Regions from separate parts of the Homo sapiens genome. Here all the other regions are linked to region 3. Evidence: promoter capture Hi-C in 16 types of primary human blood cells and fetal thymus (Javierre and others, 2016). All regions are on one chromosome and are shown on one strand. Each heading gives the region's core, a stretch centred on a gene start or on the middle of the fragment in contact. The rest is flanking DNA. Distances are from core to core; before and after follow the strand shown. Region 1 has its middle 97 kb from the start of TMX3. Region 2 has its middle 120 kb from the start of TMX3. Region 3 holds the start of DSEL (dermatan sulfate epimerase like). Region 4 has its middle 76 kb from the start of TMX3.

The links. The method cuts DNA at HindIII sites, captures the fragments that hold promoters and counts their contacts. A CHiCAGO score of 5 or more calls a contact.
Region 1: a contact is called between a fragment that was not itself captured here and the fragment with the promoter of DSEL in region 3, in 8 of 17 cell types (endothelial precursors, naive CD8 T cells, total B cells and 5 more). The highest score is 8.8, in endothelial precursors.
Region 2: a fragment that was not itself captured here is called in contact with the fragment with the promoter of DSEL in region 3 in 1 of 17 cell types (total B cells); the score reaches 5.5 in total B cells.
Region 4: a contact is called between a fragment that was not itself captured here and the fragment with the promoter of DSEL in region 3, in 4 of 17 cell types (megakaryocytes, endothelial precursors, total CD4 T cells and 1 more). The highest score is 6.2, in megakaryocytes.

What each region holds. Positions count from the first base shown.
Region 1 is chr18:68,616,210-68,619,902 of GRCh38, reverse strand. No RefSeq gene overlaps it. Among named protein-coding and RNA genes, the nearest start is that of TMX3, 97 kb to the left of the region's middle. The HindIII fragment of the contact is 8,753 bases long and covers 1-3,693 here.
Region 2 is chr18:68,595,721-68,599,327 of GRCh38, reverse strand. No RefSeq gene overlaps it. Among named protein-coding and RNA genes, the nearest start is that of TMX3, 120 kb to the left of the region's middle. The HindIII fragment of the contact is 1,310 bases long and covers 1,444-2,753 here.
Region 3 is chr18:67,515,234-67,518,705 of GRCh38, reverse strand. It overlaps DSEL (dermatan sulfate epimerase like), which reads left to right and starts at 1,986. Exons shown (of 2, transcript NM_032160.3): 1 at 1,986-2,345; 2 at 3,214-3,472. It overlaps DSEL-AS1 (DSEL antisense RNA 1), which reads right to left and starts at 2,160. Exons shown (of 5, transcript NR_033921.1): 1 at 1,957-2,160. The HindIII fragment of the contact is 6,208 bases long and covers 928-3,472 here.
Region 4 is chr18:68,637,405-68,640,934 of GRCh38, reverse strand. No RefSeq gene overlaps it. Among named protein-coding and RNA genes, the nearest start is that of TMX3, 76 kb to the left of the region's middle. The HindIII fragment of the contact is 3,600 bases long and covers 160-3,530 here.

The DNA of each region.
Region 1 (3,693 bases), core at 10-2,509, 1.1 Mb before region 3:
GCCCATTTATTGTGTATCCTGAGATTTTGTTGAAGTTGCTCATCAGCTTACGGAGCTTTTGGGCTGAGACGATGGGGTTTTCTAGATATAGGATCATGTTGCCGGCAAACAGAGACAGTTTGACTTCCTCTCTTCCTATTTGAATACCTTTCTTTCTCTTGCCTGATTACCCTGGCCAGAACTTCCAATAATATGTCAAATAGGAGTGGTGAGAGAGGGCATCCTGTCTTGTGCCGGTTTTCAAGGGGAATGCTTCCAGCTTTTGCCCATTCAGTATGATATTGGATGTGGATTTGTCATAAATGGCTGTTATTATTTTGAGCTATGTTCCACCAATACTTTGTTTATTGAGCGTTTTTAGCATGAAGTGTGGATCACAAGGTCAAGAGATCGAGACCATCCTGGCCAACATGGTGAAACCGCATCTCTACTAAAAATACAAAAATTAGCTGGGCGTGGCGGCACGCACCTGCAGTCCCAGCTACTCGGGAGGCTGAGGCAGGAGAATCGCTTGAACCCAGGAGGTGGAGGTTGCAGTGAGCTGAGATCGCGCCACTGCACTCCAGCCTGGGCGACAGAGCCAGACTGTCTCAAAAAAAAAAAAAAAAAGTTATTATACTTTATTTTGTGAGTAGTTTAAGTTTTATAGAAAAATTGTACATAAAGCACAGAATTCTAATTTACTCTTTAACTCCTCCAGTTTCCCCTATTATAAACATTTTCCATTAATGTGATACATTTTGTAACAATTGATGAGCAAATATTGACACATCAACTAATGCCCATAGTTTGTATCAGGGCCTACTCTTTGTGTGGTACATTTTATGGGTTTTTGACCAATGTATAATGACATGTATCCACAATTACAGTATCCTGTAGAATTGTTTCACTGCTCTAAAATCCCCTTGTGCTCCACCTAGTCATCCCTTACTTTCTCCCTCCAAACCCCTGGCAACAACTAATTTTTCTTTTTTTCTAACTGTTTCCATAGTTGCCATTTCCAGAAAAATCACACAATTGGCATCATGCAGTATGTAACTTTTGCAGACTGGCTTCTTTCATCTAGCAATGTTCATGTACATTTCATCCATGTCTTTTTCATGGCTTGATGGCTAATTTCTTACAAGTGCTGAATAATAGTCCACTGTATGGATATACTGCAGTTTATTTATTAATCCACCTATTGAAGGACATCCGTTTGCTTCCAAATCTTGGCGATTACGAATAAAGGTGCTATAAAATTTCAGTGCAGGTTGTTGTGTGATCCTAAGTTTTCAATTAATTTGGGTAAATACCAAGGATCATGACTGCTGGACTCTATGGGTAAGAGTATGTTTAACTTTGTAAGAAATTTTCAAACTGTTTTCCAAAGTGTCTGTACCATTTTGCATTCCTACCAGCAGAGAATAAGAATTCCTATTGCTCCTTATCCTCAACAGTATTTGGTTTTGCCAATGTTTTGGATTTTAGCTACTCTGAGAAGTATATAGCAGTATTTAATTGTTGCTTTAATCTGCAATTTACTGATGATATATGATGTTGAGCATCTTTTAATATGCTTATTTGCCATCTGTTATCTTCTTTGGTAGGATGTCTGTTGAGACCTTTTGTGCATTGTTAAATTGGGTTGTTCATTTTCTTCTTATTGTTGAGATTTAAGAGTTCTTTGTACTAGTCCTTTATCTGATATTTGTTGTGCAAATATTTTCTCCCAGTTTGTGGCTTGTCTTTTCACTCTCTTAATGTTGTCTTTTACTGCCGGGTACCGGTGGCTCACGCCTGTAATCCCAGCACTTTGGGAGGCCGAGGTGGGTGGATCACAAGGTCAGGAGACCAAGACCATCCTGGCTAACACGGTGAAACCCCGTCTCTACTAAAAATACAAAAATTAGCCAGGCGTGGTGGTGGGCGCCTGTAGTCCCAGCTGCTGGGGAGGCTGAGGCAGGAGAATGGCATGAACCCAGGAGGCAGAGCTTGCAGGGAGCCAAGATCGCACCACTGCACTCCAGCCTGGGCGACAGAGCGAGACTCCATCTCAAAAAAAAAAAAAAAAAAAATTCGTCTTTTACAGGATAGAATTGTGTGTTTTCAAATGATATGATTTATAGGAGAAGACAGTGTAGTCCCAAGGTCATATCTCATAGGGATGTGATAAGGCCCACCCAATCACCAAGTTACTTTCGTTAAAAGAAACAGGGACCCTAGGCTAGTGGCTATGTCTGTTTTTCCCTTGTTCAGGTTTCACTTTGTCAGAAAAAAATGAACTAATTAGGTTTTTCTTCTAAAACTGCCTTCCAACCCAAATTTGTAAGAAGTTTTGGCTTTTGATTTTACTGTTTATTTTTTCTTTTTGGATCAGTTTCAAGTGAACTTTTTATGTTCAGTAACTCTAGGTGTGACTGGAAGCAGGAAAAAAAAACTTTTAGGAAAAAGAGCCATTAATTTTCTTACTATTCTATCATTAGCAGAAAGTGTCCTGTCAGGAGGCAAACTTGAAAACTCACATTAAGAGAGGATACTTACTGAGGTGTATCAATATAATTGCACCTGCATCTTATCAAAGAAACCAAAGATTAAACCATCTGACTCCTAAGTATTAAAAACATGCAAAATAGAGTCAGCAACATAAGCTAGTCCCTTCCAGTCGAATGCATTTGATTTGCAAAGTGCATAAAATGTTTTCACACTCTGAAATCATTTTCAAATATTAGATTCAACAATTTCCTGAAATGGTTAGCAGTTCTTTTAAAAACAAGATAATCACCAGCCCTTGAGCTGTAAGGCATAAAAATATGTATATACAAGAACTATTTTCAAAGGGCAGAATACAAATACATCTGCTTGTGTCCCACACATCATCAAGCAATTGCTTGTTCCTAGTATATTTTCTGCTGCTGGGGAAAAGGCACACAGCTCTCATCTCTTCCATTATATATTTGAGATAGTTCACTCCAATCTCAACTTAAGGCTTCTTAAATAAATGGTACATTTAATGGCAAATACAGAAGTCAATATATATTTGTGTGCCATTTGATTCTAGTTACAAATCATGTGTTGAGCTTTCTGTTTAGAAATGGCGTCCTTTTGATGCATACAGAAACTAAACTTTTTTTTTTTTTTTTTTTTTGAGATGGAATCTCACTCTGTCTCCCAGGCTGGAGTGCAGTGGTGTGATCTCGACTTACTGCGACTCCCAGGTTCAAGCTATTCTCCTGCCTCAGCCTCTGGAGTAGCTGGAACTACAGGTGCTTGCCCCCACACCCAGCTAATTTTTGTATTTTTAGCAGAGATGAGGGTTCATCACGTTGGCCAGGCTGGTCTCAAATTCCTGACTTCAGGTGATCCACCCACTTCAGCCTCTCAAAGTGCTGGGATTACAAGCATGAGCCACTGCACCTGGCCAACTTTGTTTTCCAATATGAAGATGGCAAAAGTCCCCAGAAGTTTTCAGAAAGACTACATCTGCATGCTCAGAGAAAATCCATAACCTGTGGTCCTGTCACTAAATGTTTTGTTGCTGCTGTTGTTTCATGTCTACATCTAGTCTATAATTTTCCTGTATCTCTTTTAGTCTTTCATGTGGATGCTATCTCCCCACAAGTTCCAGGCATTAATCATAGCTGTTAAAAAATTGCCATTTGAATGAAGATGTGGCTCAGTCCTTGTATTGGTTTGCTAGGACTGCCTGAAGAA
Region 2 (3,607 bases), core at 849-3,348, 1.1 Mb before region 3:
TCCTCAAAGGAACACAGATGCTTAATTTTCAGTCAGATAGAAAAGGCAATACGCCTTCAAACTGTGGGGAGGGAGGCCTGATTTGTCCCCTGCAGTAAAATTTATTGTCAGGTGAAAGCCCTGATGCAAACATTCGCTAAAGGAGTCATCAGGCATGGAAACCGCACTCCGTCCTGTGAGGCCTGCCTTCCTCTCCTTAGGGCTTCTTCCTGGATTTGCTCTTCTCAGGTCTCCATAGTAGGTCTTTGCACAAGTAGTTGTAAAACATTTTCATTGTTTTTAAGAAAAGTTTTGTGAATAGTTACATCTCAAGTATACTCAGGGAGAAGTAGAGGAAGGTCCTTGTTAGCACTGTGTTAGTCAGGATCTTCCAGAGAAACAGAGCCCGTAGGATTTGTGCATCTTTCTATATCCTCTCCATCTCCACCTCATCTCCATTTCCATTTCCAAGTCCATCTCCATCTCTCTCCATCTCCAAGTCCATTTCCATCTCCATCTCTCTCCATTTCCATCTCTATCTCCATGTCTCTCTATCTCTCTCCATCTTCATCTCTCTCCATCTCCAAGTCCATTTCCATCTCCCTCTCTCTCTCTGTGTGTGTGTCTCTATGTCTCTCTCTCTCTCTATATATATATATACACACACACACACAAATGCTATTGTGTGTATATATAATGTATGTGTGTCTGTATATGTGTGTATATATACATATGTATATGCATGTATATTTACACACACACATTTATCTCTATACATATAGGGAGGGAGAGAGATTTCAAAGAGTTGGCTCACATGATTATGGAGGCTGGCAAGTCTAAGCTTTGCAGGGTGGGCTGGCAGTCTGGTGACCCAGAGCAAAGCTGATGCAGCAGTTCAAGTTCATGTTCAAGCAGTTCAAGTCTGAAGGTCATCCACTGCCAGAGTTTTGCTCGGGGAAGATCTGTTGTTTTCTATTAAGGCCTTCAACTCACTAGATGAGACTCACACTCATTATGGAGGGCAAACTGTTTTACTTAAAGTCCACAGATTTAAGTGTAAATCTAATCCAAAACCATCCTCACAGAAACATCCAGAAGAGTGTTTGAACAAATATCTGAGCAGTGTGGTCCAGCCAGGTTGACACATCAAGTTAATGGTGAGAACCCTTGGAGGAACAGGTGCCTAGGAAGATGCTGCAGCCTGGAAGAGCCTGAGGGGTCTGCTGGCTCCGGCTGGTCAGAGGTTTGGAGAGACGTTGGCTGGAAAAATGCCCTGTGATCATAGGGGTGGATTTGCAGAGCAAAAAAGCAATGCTTGGGAATTCACTGAAATTTCCATGAGAGGAGTACGTAACAGAACAAACACAAGGAGGAAACACTAGACAAATTTTATTCCTCAGTCATTCGTGTAACAAGGTGGCGTGTGGTTGTTAATTTTGGTTATTATTTCAACAAACTAAAGCTTACAGAAAAGCTGCAAGAACAGTAAAGGTAATCTTTTTTTTCCCCAGAATCATTTCAGTATGCATTGCAATATGATGTCCTATCATGCTCCAAAGCTGTTATTTCCTGTAAACAAAAACATCTTCTTGCATAACTACAATTTTGCCATCAAAATAAGGAAATCGACATCACTCTTACTATCTAGTTCTCAGAGATCAAGTAAGTTTTGCCAATTTTTTTCATAATGTCCTACACAGCAAAAGAATTCATGTCCTGAATCTTCTGTTGTATTTGTCAATTTTCTTTAGTTGTCTTCCATTTATAATTTTCCTCAATTTTTTTTCTGGATTTTCATGACCTTGACATTTTGAAGATTACAGACCAGTTCAATAAGTGTGTCTCAATCTGGGTTTGACGAATGTTTCATCATAATGAGATCCTAGTTACACATGTGTCTTAGTTCAGGCTACAGTAGCAGAATACAATAAGCGGAGGGCCTTAAACAACAGACATTTATTTTTCACAATGCTGGAAGCTAAAATCTGAGATCAGAGTGCCAGCAGGTTGGGTTCTGGTGAGAGTCCTTTTCTGGTGGTAGGGACTGACTTCTCCTTTATCTGTCTCCTTTATGAAAGAAAGAGGGCAAGAGAGCTCTCAGGGGCCATCCATTGTATACAGGCAATAATCTCATTCATGAGAGCTCCACCCTTGTTACCTAATTATTTCCCAAAGGCTTCACCTCCTAATACTGTCACTTTAGGGGTAAAGATTTCAACATGTGAATTTTGGGTTGACACAAAAATTTAAACCATAGCAGAATGTTTGACAAGGAGGTCAAAGAAGAGATGCTTCCTGATTGTCCCTATAAGTGGCACACATTTTGATTTGTCCCTTTATAGTAGAACACTTGGTTAAGGTGATGTCTTCCCAGCTGCTCTATTATAAAATTGTTATTTTCCTCTTTAAATAAAATGATTATTACATTTGCTTTGAGAAGTGCTTGTTTTTACTATATGTTGTGTTGTCAACATTTTTTCACGATGTTAAAACTCGTAAATTTTTTTAATGCTGTTAGTTTCCTACTGTATGAATATACAACTGTGTATGTCTGCATATTCCTATCTATATTGTTTTTAACTTAACAATGTGTCACTATTAATAGGATATCGAACACGTTTTTAGCATTGATTTTTACCTGTGATTTTCATTGTAAATCACGGATGTTTTACATTTGTAATTTGCAATGTGAAGTGACACAAATGCATAGAAGACACTAAAAGGTAGTTGGTAGATTATAAAACTAGGCTTCTAAGAACTGTTGAAAAGAAGCTTTAATAGTTATTGGACATATGAGACATCACAGATAATTAATTTGCTTAAATGATCAATTTTGTCTTTAAAATGTGTTCTCTCAAACATTAGAATACGCATTTAGAGAAAATTAGGGGGTGCATTTTTTTTATTCAAATAAAAAATAAACCTGTACAACTTATAATAATTAAGAAGGTATACCAACAATGCTTTAATTATATTTTACGATTATGCAAGTGCTGCAATATTTGGAAGTTTGGTAGACTAAGACTATATAATGAAGGAATCTCTTGTTGTGTAGGTTAATCACCATTGTATCAGGAAGCAATTCTCCACACCCCTCTCTAGATGTTATTGCAGTGGCTTACAACCCTGCTGGGAGCTCTTCATCTTCTTTCTAAGACTACTGCTGAGTTATTCTCTATTGCCACAGGCAACATACTGAATGAGATGATTCTGTGTCAGGGGTTAAGTATCAAAAATTATAGAAACTAAAGGGTTGCGGAATTTATTTTTATGGAAATTATTGCACACTTATAAGTTTTTTGTCTAAAATAACAAAAGGACATGTGAAAATTAGGTATTTCATAAAGGATATAAAGATTTGTGTGTAGAAAAATAACATTCAGTTTATGTAAATAGAGGAATAATATCAAGGAGTAGAATAATTGGACTCGTATTCTTTACATCTGGAATGTTAATTAGAATTTGAAATATTAAGTATTCCTTTTATGCACACTATTTTTATGTTTTTTTCATCTTTTTATAAATGTAATAGACACATTTTAAAGCCTGGGCATTTATATCTGTGAAATATCACAAACTCAATGATTTCAGTAGGTAAAAGAAAGAGATGTCAATGAAAATTTCTTTT
Region 3 (3,472 bases), core at 737-3,236:
CACTTTGTTCTGAGAAATGTTCTGTACATCTAGTAGCTGTGTTTACTAACCCTAAATTCTAGGCTCCCCTCTGCAAACAGATAGGAATCTCTGGAGTCAGCTCCCCGTTTCCCCCAACTCTACTCTCTCATAAATGTGGTTGGAGGCCATGGGTCCTCTTCCTCTATCAGGGGCCATGTAGAGGCACAATCCAGATTTTACAGGAAGTTGTGTCAGAAGAGGATCCTTGTTTGGGAATAAACCTCAGTGGAGGAGACGAGGCTCTGTATCAGCCCAATTGTTCGAGGTTCAACTCATTTCAAAAGCAGATATAGTACTTACAAAGGGGACTTGAGTGCTACTCATGACTTGAAGGAGTTTTGAATAGGGTACAGGAGTCAACCAGTTGAAATAGAAAGCAGAAAATAAACAACCTAAACGGCCGAATATAGGTACAAATGATATAGTTCTGGAGTAATACATTCTGGCTAGGGAAACTTAGGAGTTATTTACAGAAGAATGTAAGCATCTGAGTTGAGACCTGGATGATCAGATAATTTCAACAGTCAGAAGAATTTTAACTAGTAAGTGGGGTGGTTGGGTAAAGGACACTGTGAGGGAAAGAATGGAATAAGCATAGTTACTGAAGCACCCAAGCAAAAGCAAGTGTGGCTATTTGGACTGGGCTAGGGGTTACTACGGGGCCAAAACAGAAGAGTGATGAGGAGTTAGAGGCCACATTTCACCTCAAAGTTAAATGATTTGAAATTTATTCTGCTAGCAGTCGTCTACTGTTTGATTTTCAGCAGCAAATGATCTAAGCAAGACATTTATTTTTAAAATGTTAAAATATATCTTATTAAATATTACCAAAATAGTATGGGAAATGAAGAGACTGAATGTGTTACTAATCCCCAACTGAGAATGGAATTGTTCATTTGTGAAGCTTGATATTTCCCTGTATTTTTATTACTACTAAGCTATTATTTTTTACATTTGAGGTCAGAGCTTGGGTTGGTTTATGCCAAAGTGTCATCTCAGCTATCTGTGAGAAGCTCCATGTGTGGAGTGCAACAGGAGTCCCAGCCTGCTCTAGGATTTCCACGACCTGGCACTGCACTCACATGTCGTAGTAGCCGGGGCACACTGCCTTCTCCTGTCTGCATGTAGGTCTTTACCGAATACCAGGTCCCATTTTTAAATAAGAGGCTCCTTCTACTTGTTTGTCCCATGCTTCCCCTATTTATACTGCCTGAGAAATTGTTTTCCATCAGTAAAGCTGATTAGTCTTTTCTGTTTTCCCTTGATCTTTGTTAGCATCTGGGCTACAGAAGTTGTCCTCCTATATTAATCTGGGTATTTCGGTTTTGCTTTTCCAAAGGACAGCAAGCTCAGCCAGGCTGCCTCTCAGTTCCAAGGGAGTGCTCATTCCCTCCTTCCCCAGCCCTTGCTCTTTCCAAAAGGATGATTTCTGTCGTCCCAGGGCTTATCCCCTCCCACTCCAGCTCCTCCCATCATTTGAGTCAATCCCACAGCCCCCACTATGGCTCTATTATATAGTTGTCGTCTTCCCATAACCAAAAGGTTTTAACGCCAGCCTGGCAGCGTCTTTAGACTCTCGCACTCCCAAACTGTCCCCTCCTCCAGCTCGACTCCTCCGGGAGCGCGCGGCCACCGCTGCAAGCCCAGAACACAAACGCCTAGAGCTTCCTCCGCTTAGAAACCCGGGGCGCTTGGCCCCGCCTCACCTGCTTTCGGCCCCGCCCCGCCCGCCGCCGGCCTGCTCACGGCTCCTCCCGTCCTCCCCGAAGCCCCGCCTCTGACCCCGCCCTGTCCTGTCTCCGTCCCGCCCCACGCCCGCCAGCCAGCGTCGCTGTCTCTCGCCTTCCCTGAGGCCCCGCCTTCAGCCCCGCCTTCAACCCCGCCCCGTCCTGCCTCCGCCCCGCCCCCGCTTGCCGGCCCGCGTCGCCGTCTCACCCTCCCCGGGCTGCGCGGCCGGAGCTGGCACAGAGGATCCTCGGCCGCGGCGACATCACCGCCTGGGCACGCGGGCGCTGCTCTGGATACGGCGCCACCGAGAGAACCCGCCGCCCGCGGGTCTCTGTCCTGCGGTCCGTGGTTGCCCCCACAAGCGTCCGGCGTTTCCTGAGGGCGGGCGTGTCCGGGCCGTGCGGGTCGCGGGGACCGAGCGCGGCTGAGGAGACCGAGCTGGGGCAGCGCCTGCCGTAGCGCGGGAGACGACGCGGGGGTCTTGCGGAGCCCCGCGGGAGCCTGGCCCGCCGTGCAGAGCAGTTTTCTGGAACTCTCCACCTCCGTCTCCCTTGGGGCCCAGTGCGGCGCCGAGCCCCCGTCGGGATCTGCCTGAGGTAAGCGGACTTGGTGGCTCAGGGGTCTCTCGCCATCCTGCCTCACTCAGCCCCAGAGCGGGGAGCGGAGAATGGGGGCGGCAGGGTCGGAGGACGCCAGTGAAAAAATGCAACAGGCGGGGCGGATCAGGAAACTCCTAGCCTGAATGTTTCCTACAGAGGGGAGACTTGTCCAAGACTGAAACTTGCTTAGGTTCTTCCAGCCGCGGACGGGCACGGAGAGGCGTCTTTCGACACCGGGGTCCGAGCTCCCTCTGGCGGCTCCACCTGAGGACAGGGACTCGGCCACAGGTGAGCGCCGAGCGCGGAGCTCCCGCCCCTCGGCTTGGCGCCTGGTCACGATTCGCGGTTACCCCGCCGAGAAAAGTGACTGGTCCGAGTAGTTCTCATTAGGAAGATACCTTCTGATCCCATGAACTCTAAACCTTCCCCCGGAATTAAAAAAAAAAAAAAAAAAAAAGATCTTTTCAACTTTCAGTTTTTTGTCCCTCGGTCCTTGGGAACAAGAAATAACAAGGATAGCAGGACTCATCTTTGTGTAAACTGCATTTGAATACAAACATTTTTTAAGTGACTGAAGCCACGTTAGTGGCGTTAAACTATAGATATTGTCGGGAGAGTTCTATCTTGTATATTTTGTATTGTTAGTTGCTTGTCTTCTGCTGACGGTCACTGGTTTCCAAATAAGTGCGTGTAAATGGATAAGAAAAAAATCACTTGCCCTAGCTTAGGTTGCAGATAATATGAGATTTTACTGTGATTCTAAAATTTCTATTAAGTGATTGCAGAATGTTTAAGTCATCAGTTTATATTCATTCTCAGCATACCTGAAGCCTCAGAGAATTTTTATTTTGTCCCCCATCCCCAGAAAAGTGTCATGAAAAAAGAGCAGAAGAGAGACCTCACTGTTGCTGAAAGGGGAATTTTCTTTCCCCGTTGGCGGTTACTTCATGATCGGACGAGAAGTATCTAGGTGACTGAAGATATTCCATTTTTATGTTTGTACACATGAAGCTGATAAAAGAAGATGTGAACATGATTTCTCTTTGTCATAATAGGCTGATGAGTAAGTAAGCCTGAAAAATATTTGAAATGAAGGCAAGAATTTTGAATTTTTAAAAACCAAC
Region 4 (3,530 bases), core at 710-3,209, 1.1 Mb before region 3:
TTCATATGAATTAATTCTAATATATTACCTTATGTAATCTCATAGCATCTTAATTTATATATTATTGAAAATAATAAGGGCTGAATTTTGATACAAGGGAAACAGCTGAAAGACAAGCTAATTATGTTTCAGGAGCTATGAATCTTTATATACAAAGCTTTTGCCCTCTTTCAAATGACTTGTTTTTATTATTCCTTCTTAGTAGGCACTTGTTCTGGTATAGGCAGACCCATGGAGCCACATTTCTTAACTAATTCATTGATTAAAACAGCATGTATATAATTGTTTTATAGGATATTAACGTATCTTACTTCACAAAAGGGCCTGTGGTCAAACAAGTCAAGAAAGGAAAAAGTATCACAAACACTTTTTTTAAACTATAAATTGCATAGTCACTTTTATATGCTAATGTGAATTATAAGTACATATGGTATACACACAAACTCTTTATATTTTATTTTGTACCAATTTATTAGGGATCTAGTTTCCCCCACATTTTCATTTTCATATTATTTTTAAAAATTGTAATGTAATGAGAGAAAGGTAAATCTCCTTTGATTTTGCAAAAGAGGTTAGATGTCACTTATTATGCTAATTAGCCATTCTATTTCTTCTTTGGTAAAGTGTTCATTTTGTTTTTAGTTCTTTCTATTTTCCTGTGTCAATTTCATTATTTTCAGCCTTACCATATTCTTCTGATTTGATGTATACTTGTGCAGAGAATGCTTTTTTATTTTAGTATTTTAACCCTGTTTGACAAGTCAATGTTATTTGAGATAATTTGATACTTACATTTATTAAATTAGTGCCAATCATCATTGCTCTTATTATTGATACTTACCTGATATTTTCTGTTTGTAAGACTTTCTCGTGTTTAATGTCTTTCCTTTCATTTCAGCTTTTTGCTCCATTATTAGAATTCCCTCTTTTTGATTCCTCTGGTGATCTGGATGCTCTCCATCCTATTCCAATTATTTTAGGAGATGTTTAAAAAATTTATTTAAACATACCACAGTTGGTATCAAATCAAAGACTATCTAGGATTTTAAACTAATGTCTTTTTTCAAAGGAATACTTTCTTAACAGTTGCGATAATAATTCTGGCTGCAATTGCTATTGTGATGTATTTTTATATTATTTCTCCTATGTTACGCTTTTTTCTCTTGGAGTCCTTTCTCATTTTTTCCAAAATAAATCAAGTTATTGAGTTTTTAATCCAATTAGGGGAATAAATAATAGTCTTTCTTTGTACTTTTATATCGGGAATGTCATCATTTTATCCTCAAATTTCAATGAGAGTTCAAACATACTATTTTAGATTCTAGCAGGTTTTCCTTCAGAATTTTAAAAATGTTTCTTCCCTAGATTTCTATATAAGAAATGGAAATATTCTTATAATTTGGAGTAATCTATTTTTACATTAACCTTTTTATTTTGAGGTAATTGTAGACTTGCATGCAGCTGTAAGTAATAACAGAGAGATGAGTGGTGGGGAAAATGACAGATAGGAGACAGGATTAAATAGCAGCTCCCACTTGGGAGGACAGAGCAGTGTGTGGAGACTCACATCGTGAACTTTTTCTCCAAGAGCTACTACAGGAATACATCAGGAAAGCTGAGAGAATCCATAGACCCTTTGAAGGAAGTGGATTCCTCCTGTAGGACCCAGGAGACGGCCCAAATACTGTGAGTGCCCAAACTGTGAAAGTGGGAAAGAGGGATCGGATCGTCTGCCCCTAAACACCCTCACTGGGGAACCTGAAGGCCTAGATCATAGGAGAAGGATATGATCTTACCCGGAGCTGAGTCAATTTAGAAAGCTGAGTGAAATACAGTGGTAGAGGAAACAGCAGGAAAAGCCCTGTGGACTCTCTGGGTCCCCAGGGAAGCCATTTCTGACTTGTATCTCTGGAGTCCTTGGGGAGGGCTGCCAGAGGAACTGGGAAAAGACCACAGGGGGAAGGAAACCTCCAACTGGACTTTGTAACAATTCCAACCGAATGCGAAGTCTCCTGGCCAGAACTCAGGGGAGGGCATGAATCCAGTGTGCAGACTCAACAGATAGGGAGGCCTGAAAGCCCTGCTTGCTTTCTCAGCTGGGAAGCTGGTAGCCTGGGGCAAGTTTTCAGCCCTGCTCTCCCACTGCCTGGAAACAAACTCCGTGCTGTTGTGGGGGAACGGTGGGAATGAGACTGGACTTTTGGGTTGCGTGGGAGCTGAGTGAAGCCTGTAACTGCTGGCTTTCCCCCACTTCCCCGACAACCTACATGACACAGCAGAGACAGGCACAATCCTTCTGGGAACATAACTCCATTGACCTGGAAACCACATGCCCATCCCCCACAGCAGCTACAGCAAGCCCCACCCAAGGAGAATCTGAGCTCAGACATGCCTAACCCTGACTGCACCTGATGGTCTTTCCCTACCACCCTGGTAGCTGAAGACAAAGGTCATATTATCTTGGGAGTTCTAGGATCCCTCCCACTGCCTGATCTTCCCTATACTACCACAGCTGATGCTCTCTTGAAAGTGTCACCTCCTGGCAAGAGGCACACCAGCACAAAACTAGTGCACTAAAGAACTATAACTAACGACCCAACTAAGAGTCCATTTCACTTCCCTGCCACCTCCACCAGAGCAGGTGCCAGTATTCATGCCTGAGAGACCTGAAGACTGTTCACATCACAGGACTCTGTGCAGACACCCCTTTACCAGCTCAGAGCGAGGTAGGACTGATGGTTAGCTAGATCAAAAAGAAAAATAACAGTCACTACAGTTTGGCTCTCAGGAAGCCACATCCCTAGGGAAAGGGGGAGAGTAGTACATCAAGGGAGCACTCTGTGGGAAAAAAGAATCTGAGCAGCAACCTTGAGCCCCAGATCTTCCCTCTGACATAGCCTACTCAAATGAGAAGGAACCAGGAAAACAATTCTGGTAATATGGATCACACTAGTTCACCAGCAATGGATCCAAAAAATCACACTAGCTCACCAGTAATGGATCCAAACCAAGAATAAATCCCTGAATTACCTGGAAAAGAATTCAGAAGGTCAATTATTAATTTAATCAAGGGGGCACCAAAGATAGGTGAAGTCCAACTTAAGGAAACAAACAAACAAATGACACCAGATATGAGGGGAGAAATCTTCAGTGAAATAGATAGCATAAATAAAAAAAAATCACACCTTCAGGAAATAAAGGGCACACTTAGAGAAATGCAAAATATACTAGAAAGTCTCAGCAATAGAATCGAACAAGCAGAAGAAAGAACTTCAGAGCTTGAAGACAAGGTTTTCGAATTAGCCCAATCCAACAAAAAGAAAAAACAATTTTAAAAAATGAACAAAGACTCCAAGAAGTCTGGGACTATACCCAAGAATAATTGGCATTCCTGAGGAAGAAAGAAAATCTAAAAGTTTGGAAAACAAATTTGGGGGAATAATTGAGAAAAACTTCTCTGGCCTTGCTAGAAACCTAGACATCCAAATACTAGAAGCTCAAAGAACACCTGGGAAGCTCATGGCAAAAGT